Regions from separate parts of the Homo sapiens genome. Here all the other regions are linked to region 1. Evidence: promoter capture Hi-C in human tissues and cell types (Jung and others, 2019). All regions are on one chromosome and are shown on one strand. The core of a region is centred on a gene start or on the middle of the fragment in contact, and the rest is flanking DNA. Distances in the headings are between cores, read along the strand shown. Region 1 holds the start of ARFGEF2 (ARF guanine nucleotide exchange factor 2). Region 2 has its middle 14 kb from the start of LINC00494. Region 3 overlaps LINC00494 (long intergenic non-protein coding RNA 494).

The links. The method cuts DNA at HindIII sites, captures the fragments that hold promoters and counts their contacts. A contact is called where the count stands out against the background at its distance.
Region 2: a contact is called between a fragment that was not itself captured here and the fragment with the promoter of ARFGEF2 in region 1, in 1 of the 25 tissues and cell types used here (lymphoblastoid cells).
Region 3: a contact is called between a fragment that was not itself captured here and the fragment with the promoter of ARFGEF2 in region 1, in 1 of the 25 tissues and cell types used here (lymphoblastoid cells).

What each region holds. Positions count from the first base shown.
Region 1 is chr20:48,919,834-48,923,805 of GRCh38, forward strand. ARFGEF2 (ARF guanine nucleotide exchange factor 2) reads left to right here and starts at 1,878. Exons shown (of 39, transcript NM_006420.3): 1 at 1,878-2,177. The coding sequence starts at 2,057. RefSeq lists silencers at 1,639-1,718, 1,949-2,048, 2,089-2,138 and an enhancer at 2,509-2,588. The HindIII fragment of the contact is 23,689 bases long and covers 1-3,972 here.
Region 2 is chr20:48,344,422-48,348,393 of GRCh38, forward strand. No RefSeq gene overlaps it. Among named protein-coding and RNA genes, the nearest start is that of LINC00494, 14 kb to the right of the region's middle. The HindIII fragment of the contact is 5,036 bases long and covers 1-3,972 here.
Region 3 is chr20:48,362,360-48,366,331 of GRCh38, forward strand. It overlaps LINC00494 (long intergenic non-protein coding RNA 494), which reads left to right. Exons shown (of 5, transcript NR_026958.1): 2 at 2,530-2,838. Among named protein-coding and RNA genes, the nearest start is that of LINC00494, 4.4 kb to the left of the region's middle. The HindIII fragment of the contact is 7,199 bases long and covers 1-3,972 here.

The DNA.
Region 1 (3,972 bases), core at 628-3,127:
AAGGCCATGAAATATTCAACGTGACTGTAGACCGGGCCCTGGGGATATGGCCTGCCCCTCTGCAACCGTGCTTTAGTGAGACAACAAATAGTCAACACGTACAAAAGCTCAGAAAGTGCTGTGGAAAACATCAGCTAGGGAGAGAGGGGGCTACTTGAGACAGGTCAGGGAAGGCTTCCCAGAGACGTCTGAGCTAAGACCCGAGCACTGGAGCATGCCTGCCTGGGATGTCTGTGCCTCTGAGGTTTCCAAGGAAGACAACTGTCTTTGCATAAGCCCATGGCTGCCCTTGGGGGAAGGGGCCCAGGGGACACCACTAATGGTTGCTGTGATAGCATCATTGTGGAATGGAGTGGAAGCTGCCTTGGGGCCAGAGTATCTGTCCCCCAGCACTCATTTGCAGGCTGTGTGACACTGGCCATCTGGGTTTCTTCCCCTGACTCCCAAAGCCCAGGTCCAGTTCACTGCACTGTGAGGGTTCACAGGTTTATAACAGGATAAACTACAGAGAGAGGTCAGTGCTTCCTGGTATACTATGCACAGCTGCGACACTCAATAAACAGAAGTTCACTGAACTGCAAGGTCACTGCTGCTGTGACAGGAGGGTCATATGGATGTGTGTATCTTGCCAGTGGCTGTGGTGAAACCCTGCTTGTGGAGAATAGACATAAACACACCTTCTCTCTCTCCCTCTCTGTCTTCCTTTCACCTCCCCTCTCCCTCCACCCCTTCCATTTCCTATTCTCCCAGCATGTTCTTTCCACTCTTCCTCACCTCCTTCCCCTTCACCTCCTTCCTACACCATTCCTTTTTCCATCTCTTTCCTGTTTTCCTAACTTGTTACTCTCATCTTTTTCTTTCTTTTCTGTTCTTCCTGACAGCTCCCCTTCCTACCTCCTCTCCCTTCACCCTTTCTCCTACTCTTTCCCCTCCTCTCATTTCTACCTCTCTTTCCTTTTCACTTCCCCTCTCCCTCCTGTCTTTCTCCTTTTTCTTTTACCTCTGTGCCTCCCTCTCACCTCTTCCCACACCACCTCATCTCCTCCATAACTAACTCACCTCCTTTTTGTTTGTTTGTTTTTTGAGACAGGGTCTCCTTCTGTGGCCCAGGCTGGAGTGCAGTGGTGCCATCACAGCTCACTGCGGCCTCAACCTCCGAGGCTCAAGCGATCCTCCCACCTCAGCCTCCCCAGTAGCTGGGACCACAAGCAGCGCCACCAGGCCCGGCTGTTTTACTTTTTATTTTGTAGAGAAAGGGTCTCCCTATGTTGCCCAGGCTGGTCTCGAACTCCTGGGCTCAAGCGATGCTCCCGCCTTGGCCTCCGGAAGCGCTGGGATTAGAGGCGTGAGCCGCCGCGCCGGGCCTCCCCCCTTCCCCTCCGCCGCCGCCTTCTCATCGCCCTTCCTCCTTCCTCCTGACGCCCCTTACTCCCGATCACTTCTCATTCATTCACCAGCTTCCAGTCCTCGCTCCCTCACCTCTTTTCTTTCCTACTCGCCTTCTCCTCCTGCCCCTTTATCATCTCTCCTTGTCACCGTTCTTTTTTGCCAATCCTCTCGTTCCCCTTCCTTTCCTCATCTCCTCTCTTACCCACGTCATCTCCATTCTCGTGCTCCCCTTCACCTCCCGTTACCTTGCGCTTCTCTCCTCTCATCTCCATCACCACCTCTCCCCGCTTTCGCCTTTCTTTAGCCCCCGCGTCCCCTATACCCTTCGCCCATGCCCACTCCCCTCCCCACCTTCTCTTCTTCCACCCTCCACCCTCGCCTTCTGTCTCTCGCCCACCTGACTCCGCTCCGCCCCCAGCCTTAGGCTCCGCCCCGCTGGGGGTCACGGGGCCGACGGACGCTAGGCGGCCGTAGCGGCCTCGCCAGTCACGTGGTCACGTGACGCGCTCCAACATGGCGGCGCCGTGGGGCCGAGGTGTCGCTTCCTGACGGGGCGGCGCGGACGGACGCGGCCGGTGCCGGCCGGGACGCCGGGCCCGCAGCCTAGCTCGCCATCTCGCTCACGCCGCCCGCCCGCGGGGCCGTCAGCCCCCGCCGGGCCGGGGCCATGCAGGAGAGCCAGACCAAGAGCATGTTCGTGTCCCGGGCCCTGGAGAAGATCCTAGCCGACAAGGAGGTGAAGCGGCCCCAGCACTCCCAGCTGCGCAGGGCCTGCCAGGTGGCGCTCGGTGGGTGAGCCGCTCCCGCCCTGCCCCGCGCTGGCCTCAGCACGTCGGCCGTTGCCCTATCCTACTCGGCCTTGGCCCGGCCTCCTGGCCTCCGCTTCCCCCCGATCCCGAATTCCACCCTTCCGGCCTCCTCCTCATTATACCCCCGGAGGAAGTGTTGCCCGGGCAGCTCGGGACTGGCCCAAGGTCACCTAGCAAGTTGGTGACAACCAGAGCTTGTTCCTCAGGGTTCCAGCTCAGGGCTTTTGCCACGATTCCTTGTCGCCCTGTTTCCTGGTTCCTCCCCTCACCACCTCCAAGTCCTAGAAACAGTAGCCCTTGCCCCAAGTTTTTTCGTTACCTGAGCTCTGCTGATTGGGGTTCCCCTAGGTGAACAGAGCATGTAGGAAGAGCCGTCCAACTGGTTTAGGGAAACCCCTGATTCTTGTTTTGGAAGTGCCCGTTGGAGAATGTTTTCCTTTGGTTTGGGGATCTCCCATAGCTCTTTCCCTCAAGGAAGGATTGTAGAAGGTGTTCTGGATCTCCCAGGCATTGTAGTGAGCAAGACATCTGCTTATTCCTAGCAGTCCACTAAAATACAAGGTCTTCAGCGCGAAGATACTTGTCTGACTTATTCATTGCTGTATCCCTTGCGCTTGCAACAGTGCCTGGCGCACAGTAGGTGCTCGATAAATATTTGCTGATTGAATGGACCCTCAGATTATGGAAAGAGGGAGAATTCTAACTAATAGTTAAAGGCTTGATAATTGATAGCAAAATCACTATCCTATCTTTCAGTTTTAATCATTTAACAAATATTTATCAAGTGCCCACTGCATACCAGGTACTGAGAATTCAGTGGGGAACAAGACGGACATGGTCCTTACCCCTATGGAGCTTATACTCGAATAGAGGAGACAAAATAATTAATTAAGAAAATAGGTGAGGTATTTTGGAATACTGATAAATACTATTTTGAAAATAAAACAGCAAGATGTGATAAAGAGGGCTTGAGGACTGCTTTCCATGGTCAGGAAAGTAATCTTTTCCAAGAGGAAAAGTAATCAGGTGGTCAGGAAAGTAATCTTTTCCAAGAGGGTGACACTTGAGCTGAATACTGAAAGGCAAGAACTATCCACCATATGGAGTTTCAGAAGAGAGTTCTTGGTGGGAGAATCCATGCATTTGACCAGAGCTGTTTTCAAGCTAATTCACTGCCCCAACGTCTTTGGTTTGGAATCTGTAAAGGCCTGTTTTTCCTAACAAAATGAGCAAATGGAAAGTTTGATTTTTAGTCACATAGTTTGAGATTGTTATCACCTTTCTCCTTTCATTTGCTACAAAGTATAGAGTAGTGTTCTTTTGGCATTTAGAAATAGGCTGGTGAACTTTGCACTTCCCTGGAAAGAAGGTCCCTGGCTTTCATCAGATTTTCAGAGGGCCCTGAGACTCCCTCAGGGGCCAACTATTGATGCAGAGGTGGTAGTCTAGATAATCTGGAAACAGTTGCTAGTCCGTGAAATTCAGGATCAGTGGAAGGAATTTACTGAGATGTAGATTTTTAAAGCTTTTCTCTTCCAATAACCAAGGCTGTTGGGTATTTTATCAGCAATGTGGGATAAGCACTGCAAAGCAGTTTGTTAGGCAAGAGCCTGGTATTTATAACTCCACGTTGAAATCTGCCTGGACTCTATCTTCTCGATATTGTTGTGGAGGTTTCAGAATAGTTATTTGGCAGAAGAGTTTTTATTTTTTCTTCAGAAAACTTCTTAACATAAAATTTTCACCAAAGTGTGCATCATATTATTGGAACCTA
Region 2 (3,972 bases), core at 689-3,188, 580 kb before region 1:
TTCTTTACATTTTCCCCTGGGGCCCCCACAACACTTGGCTTACCCCTCTTTATGGCATTGTGATGGACACTGCCATGATTTTGCGCATCAAGCTCCTGCCTTCTGTTAAAATGGCTGGGCTTTCCTTTGGGAACCCCCTCAGTTAATCAGATGTGAGTGGGACTGATTTCTCCACCACCCCTAGTCACCCCATCCAGAGAGTGGAGGTCATTGGCAGAGCTATTCCAGGACCAGGTCTGGAGACTCTTGGTCCACGTTACCATCCATCTCATCTCAGGCTGTTGATTTGTCTATGGGTAGTTATCTCATAGTTGGTACAAGCAATACTGTTGCTTAGCTCACCTATCATCTGTTCTTAACCCTCTCTCCCTAGCTACCTTCCAGCTAGGCATTGCAGGAAACAGAGTCCTGGACAATGAAATATAAGTAGAAGTCTGCTGTGGGTTTCCTGAAACTGTTTTGCTTTCTTGATTTAGTCACTGTCTTGCCCTCTCTTCCCCATCTTCCTGCAGTTGATGTGATGGGTATGATGGATGTGAAAGATGGAGCAGCAGCAGCCGGTTTGCAGCCTTGAGGGAAAGGCCAAGAGGCTTGTGGAAGTCTCGGTGATGCCATCTCCAAGATGCTGAACCACGACCAGCAATTTCCTACCCCAGATTTCTCAAGATTTGAGGAAAACAGTTATGTAATTAAGTTTCTATAGCTACGCTTTCTGTTCCTGGAAGCTGAAAGCATTCCTGATTAATGTGGTTAGTTTTCTGTTCAACTAGCAAACAGTACAGTGGTAATGACAGAGTCCTAGACTATCTGGGCTGAAAGGAACCTCAAACAGAGGTCAACCAGTGACCTGTCCTTTCATTTCACAGGGACGAAAAGGGACAGGAAAGGGGTCCTTTCTGGGGTGCTTGTCCAGGGTGCTTCAGGGAGAGAGGGGTGGAACCAGGACTGTTTTCTGCATTTCTCAGCAGCTCACGGTTGCTTTCACCACACCTCACTGATGTGTGCTATCTTCCAGGCAATAATGACAAGAGCCACCATTTACTTATTAGGCCAGGTGCAGATTAAGTACTTTGCCTATATCAATTCATTACATTCTCACCAAACTCCTCCAAGGGAGACAGTCTTGTTATCATTTGCATTTATGAGGATGAAGCCAAGCACAGAGAGATCAAGTAACTTGTCCAAGTATCCAAATCCAGACATTGTAGTGATGATGACTCCAACCTCAGGAGTCTGGAGCCTGAGCTCCCACATGGAACCACTAGGCTGTACTGCCTGGGTGGGGTTTCAGAAATGCTGGTATAAGATTCCAGGCTGGTAGGAGCTTCTTAGGGTGAGACGAGTAGGGGCAAATCAGCAGGGCCACCTCTCTGGTAAAGTCCTTGGGGCACTGCTTCCGGGAAACACAATGTCAGTGGTGCCACTGGGCTGTCCAATGTGGTGGCCCCAGGGTTTTGTCCCTGCAAGTGTCACACTGTGAGTTCCTCAGGAACTAGATGACAACATAAACAAATGAAGCCAGGTGACTATAGTGAGGGGTGTGGAATGAGGCCAATTGGGGAGCCCAAGCACCTTCTAAAGGAGCATCGGCCCCTCAGCTTCAGCCTCTGTTACTGTGGGAAAATATGGGTCCACATTTTACAGTTTTATAGGTTTTCAATGACTGCCTCAAATCTGGACCTTTTTCTCTCTCTCTGCTTTAATTTAATTTAATATATCTCTCTTGGTTGTGCATCATTTAATTTTATTCTTAGGTAATTTTTTTATTGTTATGTCATCCATATACCCTAAAATTCACCATTTTGAAGTATGTAGTTGAATGGTTCTTAGTATATTCACAAACTTGCATAGCCATCACCACTATCTCATTCTAGAACATTTTATTTATTTTTATTTATTTAGAAGTGGAGCTTTCCTATGTTGCCCAGGCTGATCTGGAACTCCTGGGCTCAAAGGATTCTCCTACCTCAGCCTCCTGAGTAGCTGGGATTACAGGCACAGGCCACTGTACCTGGCTTCAATTCTAGAATATTTTAATCATCCCCAAAAGAAACCCCACATTCACCGGGTACAGTGGCTCATGCTTGTAATCTCAGCACTTTGGGAGGCCGAGGCGGGCCTATCACAAGGTCAGGAGTTCGAGACCAGCCTGGCCAACATGGTGAAACCGTGTCTCTACTAAAAATACAAAAATTAGCTGGGCATGGTGGCACACGCCTGTTGTCCCAGCTACTAGGGAGGCTGAGGCAGGAGAATGCTGTGAATGGGAGGCAGAGCTTGCAGTGAGCTGAGATCATGCCACTGCACTCCAGCCTGGTGACAGCGAGACTCTGCCTCAAAAAAAAAAAAAAGAAAGAAAGAAAGAAAAAAAGAAAAAAAAAAGAACCCCCACATTCATTAGCAGCCATCTCCCATTCCTCTCCCCACCTCCCAGCCCCAGCAACCACTTACCTATTGTCTGTCTTTATGAATTTGCCTGTTTTGGATGTATCACATAAATGAAATTGCTCACTATGTGGCCTTTTGTGACTGGTTTCTTTGACTTAGCATAATGTTTTCAAGGTTAATCTATATTGTGGCATGCATCAGTACTATATTCCTTTTTATGGCTGTATAATGCCATTGAATGGGTATACCACATTTAAATCTGTTATCTATTACCTATCCATATTTAAATATGTTATCTATCTGTTATGAGTTATTCATAAAATGATGGACATATGTGTTGTTGCCACTTATTGGTTATTATGAACAATTTGCTATAAACGTTTATATACAAGCTTTTGTGTAGACATATGTTTTCAATTCTTTTACGTATATGTCTGGGAATGGCATATGTTGCTAGATCATATGATATGTCTATATTTAACATTGGAGGAACTGCTAAACTGTTTTCCACAGTAACAGTACCATTTTACATGTTCATAAGCAATGCATGAGGGTTTAATTTTTCCACATTCTTTCCAATACTTGTTAGTGTCCATCTTTTCTATTACAGCCATACTAGTACATGTGAAATGGATTTCATTGTTTTAACTTGCATTTCTCTAATGACTCACAATGTCGAGCATCTTTTCTGTGCTTAGTCTCCATTTGTATGTCTTTTCAGAAATGTATTTTCAAGTCCTTTGCTGCTTTCAAGATTTTTTTTTTACCTTTGTCTTCTGACAGTTTGATTATGATGTGACTAGTGTGGATGTCTGAGTTTATTCTACTTGGAGGTCATCGAGCTTCCTGGCTGGTTTTTATCAAACTTGGGAATTTTTTTGGCTAGTATTTCTCAGTGATTCTTTCCTTCCCTTTCTGTCCCTCCTTTCCTCCTAGGACACCTATTATGTGTATGTTGTCACACTTGATGGTGTCCCACAGGTCTCTGAGCTCTGTTCACATCTCTTCATTCTTTTCTCTTTCTGTTCCTCAGACCGTATTATCTCAATAGACCCATCTTCAAGTTCATTGAGTCTTTCCACTGCCTGCTCAAATATATTCTTGAGCCCCTTCTAGTCAATTTTTATTTCTATTATTGTACTTTTCAACTCCAAGACTTCTAACTAGTTCTTTTTTATATTTTAAGAATAATTTCTGTATTTTTATTGCTATTCTTAATAGCAAATATCATCTTCCTACACTCTTTAGTTTTTTAAACATGGTTTTCTTTAATTCTTTGAACAAATTTAAAATGACTGACTTAAAGTCTTTGTCTAGTTAAGTCCTATGTACGGACGTCCTCAGGGACAGTTTCTATTGGCTGCTTTTGTTTCTTGTGTGTGGTATATACTTTCTTTTTTTATTGCATAGCTCATCAATTTTTTTGTTGAAAAATAGATTGTTTAGATAATATTTTTTGGCAACTCTTGAAATCTGGTTCTTTTCCTCCCCCAGAGTTTGTTGCTTTTTGTTTTTTGTTGTTCATGATGTTTGTTTAGTGGCTTTTCTGAACCAATTCTTTAAAGTCTATATTCCTTGTCATGT
Region 3 (3,972 bases), core at 4-2,503, 560 kb before region 1:
TGTTTTTTTGTTGTTGTTGTTTTTTGTTTTTTTGAGGCGGAGTCTCCCTCTGTCGCCCAGGCTGGAGTGCAGTGGCGCGATCTCGGCTCACTGCAAGCTCCGCCTCCCAGGTTCATGCCATTCTCCTGCCTCAGCCTCCCAAGTAGCTGGGACTACAGGTGCCCACCACGACACCAGCTAATTTTTTTGTATTTTTAGTTGAAACAGCGTTTCACCGTGTTAGCCAGGATGGCCTCAATCTCTTGACCTTGTGATCTGCCCATCTCAGCCTCCCAAAGTGCTGGGATTACAGGCGTGAGCCACCGTGCCCGGCCACTCCAGCACCTCCTCTTTCAAGTACAAATCCAGACCAAGGCACAGGGCCCCTGCTGGGTCTGACCTTTTAGCACAAAGAGCCACCGAACCATGGGAAACACTAAATAATTTGATGCAAAGTAATTTCTTTCTTAAACATAGGGCATCCCTACAGCTTTCTGTCTTATTTTTTAGCTCCATATGAAAGAGTCTGCTCTGGGGCAAGTCCACGAGGCCCTGAGTACCACTGGGAATGGAAGCTCCACTGAGGCACACATAAGCCTCTGGTGCTTCCGTCTCTGCCATGAGAGGGTGGAAGAGACACTGGGCCACTTCAAAGTTGTTAGGTGGCCAGTTGCTGGGTGGGCATTATGTGAGGGACACTTCACTTTCCCATTTCTTTGTACCAGACAGAAAAACAGTGGAAAATCAGTTATCTCCAGTTTAAAGTTGATGGGTCAACTAAGGCTCTTTGGGCTTAAGAAATCAGTTCATATAGGTTTTTGTTTGTTTGTTTGTTTGTTTGTTTGTTTTTTGAGGTAGGGTTTCACACGGTCACCCAGGCTGGAGTCCAGTGGCACGATCTCAGCCCACTGCAACCTCCACCTCCAGGGTTCAAGAGATCCTCCTGCCTCAGCCTCCTGAGTAGCTGGGACTACAGGCGTGTGCCACCACATCTGGCTAATTTTTGCATTTTTGGGAGAGATGAGGTTTCGCCATGTTGCTCAAGCTGGTGTTGAATTCCTGGCTCAAGTGATCTGCCCGCCTCGGCCTCCCAAAGTGCTAGGATTACAGATGTGAGCCACCCTGCCAGGCCCAGTCCATATAGTTTTAAGCTCATTTGGATTTAATATAAAAGTTTAAGCTTTTGGCCTACTGTTTAATATTGAATTGTTCCTTTCATGGAATCATGAATGATTTTTCACAAGTTTCTCTTCTTTTTATAAAAAGTGACTCTGGTGGCCAGGTGCAGTGGCTAACACCTGTAATCCCAGCACTTTGGGAGGCAAGCCGGGCAGATCACGAGGTCAGGAGATGGAGACCATCCTGGCCAACATGGTGAAAACCCATCTCTACTAAAGATACAAGTTAGCTGGGCGTGGTGGCACGTGCCTGTAATCCCAGCTGCTCAGGAGGCTGAGGCAGGAGAATCACTTGAACCCAGGAGGCAGAGGTTGCAGTGAGCCTAGATTGCGCTGCTGCACTCCAGCCTGGTGACAGAGTGAGACTCTGTCTCAAAAAAAAAAAAATGACTCTGGCTCTGGCTCTATATCTAAGGGGTCAACTGCACCATTGTCACCACAATGCCATTTTCTGGAAGGAAAAGCTCTATCTGACTTCACAGTCCTTAGGAGCCTTGTTATGGAACCTGGTGGACAAACCATTTTAACTGGACATGATGTTGCTTTTTAATCAATGACTCCTGAAATTTTAGGTGAGTATGAGTCTGGAGTTTTAGATTACAAACAACAGGAAGCCAATTCAACCCAGCTTTTTAAAAGAAGATTTCTAATTAAATGTGTTGATTCTGTTAGCAGAGAACTCTGGGGGCAGTGTGGGTTGCAGGCATGGGTAGATCCAGGTGTCAAATGACATTCTCAGGACCCATGCTCTCTCCATCATTGGCTCTGATTGCTCAGGTTTGGGCTCCATTCTTGGGCCACTCTCTTGCTCTGCAGCAAGATGGTCAATGGCAGCTCTAGGCTCTCACCCTCATCTTCACATCTCTAAGTCCAGAACAAAGAGCTTTCCACACCTGCTACAGATCTGGGAGAAGATGATCCTATCTTTCTTGAACCTGAGGCTAGTCCTTACTCCTCCCTAAGTTCTAACATATTTACTTAAAACAAGGCACTAATGAAATGACTATATAAGTGCCCCACTGCCTCAGTAGGCAAAAAATGTGTTTTTATATATAGCTTATTCTAACAGTATTCAAACTGTGGCTTGATCTTACTGAGCTCCAGTGGCCATAGAGAATATGATTCTTTCAGATGTTTTCACAACAACTTTTACAGCAACTATCTTTACACCTGCCTTCCCTTTCTCCTCATCAGATCAATTAGTCTGGTTTCTTCTATTTCCTGCTTACTTTCCGTTCCCCCATTACTGAACTTCTGATTGAAGAAATATACAGGACTGGGCACTGAGGCATTGAGGATGCTTTCAAGTTAGCAGTAAAGAAATACCCACAGGGTCATCCTGCCATCCCAACAATTGTCTTCTTTCTGCTAGGATAGGCCTCATCACTCCTCAGATGATTCTCGAAGGATAACACACAGGCCAGTGGGCAGCCCTAGGCCAGGGGGATTACCAAGACATGAAGACTTTCTTTCTGTCTCAGCAACCTTCATGCTTGGTCAAGCAAAGGTGTTGCTTAAGTCAAACCCAGGGCAGGGGAGAGCAGTTGAAGCAAAGTGAGTCTTTGGAGGCCCTGTGGTTGTGGGGTCTGGTGTGGAGACAGTGAGAACGGAAAAGGTGGGAGAGGAGCAGTCAACCCGTGAATGGCCCCATTCAGACGCCTTTACCTGGAAGACGTGGCAGGTGAGCAGCAAGTGAGCGGGAGAGTGGGAGAGAGAATGAGGAAGTGAGGGAGAGAATGGATGAGTGAGCACCTGCTTGGATGAGCCGACACCCACCAGGGATCATGAGAACACCGAACAGCTGAGGCACGGTGGCGTCTCTCAGCAGCCTCCCCAGGCCTGTGCCCCTGGGTCCTGACATGAGAGCTGATGACCATTTATTATCACTGGTGATGTCAAGAGGTGGCTTGGAATGGTTGTAACCGTCTGTTCATTTTCATCTCACCTCCACATCCACCACAAATACACAGTGACGTTGCTCTGCAAAAGCAGCAGCACACAGCCCCCCAGAAGCCCCTTCCAGGTAATTGCCAAAAGTTTCTTCCATATGGAAATTCTGTAGTTGTGTGACCTCAGGCTAGTTACACAACCTCTCTGAGCTTTGCCATCGTCTTCTGTCCTATGGTAAGAATGATACTGAGGTACTAGGGAGCTGTGAAGCATATGCTGTGAGACAACACAGCTGAGCAGCCCAGCCAGAGCCCCCTGGGGAAGCCGTCAGAGGTCAGCAGCTCCCGTCTCCTTCCCTCTTGACTCCTAATAGTCTAGGACAGAACTTTGCCCTCCCTTCTTCCTGTCCCAAAGATGCACAATGATAATGATGCTGATGGTTATTTAGTAAGAAACTTCCCAACAGGAACAGTCATCAGGAGGGGGCACAGTTGGATTCTCTCCAGTGAAGATGTCAGGATGGACAGAAATGTCAGCGTAATCCAAAGAGGACACAAACACCCCTGCTATTTTCTTGTCACCAGGAAAAGGCCAGCTCTAGGTTTGATGAATGTTTAGTGAAAGAAAGTTTGCAAAAGTAGAAAAGAAACTGACATAATGGTAGCCAAACAGGCTTTCTCTGCATTAGAAGAGCTAAATATACCCTTGCATGTCTGATTAGAGAAAAACAAAACAAACAAGCAAAAGCTCCTCCGATGCACAGAGGTACTGCTCCATTGAACTAGACCAGAAGAGCTTGGGCCTGCCCCTTGGGAACAGGGGTCAACATGATGCGGTGGGCAGGGACCCATCATCTGACAAGAAGATGCCCTGAGGGCAATGGAAAGCACGGTGTGTCGGGAGAAGATGGCCCTGAGGGCAGGTG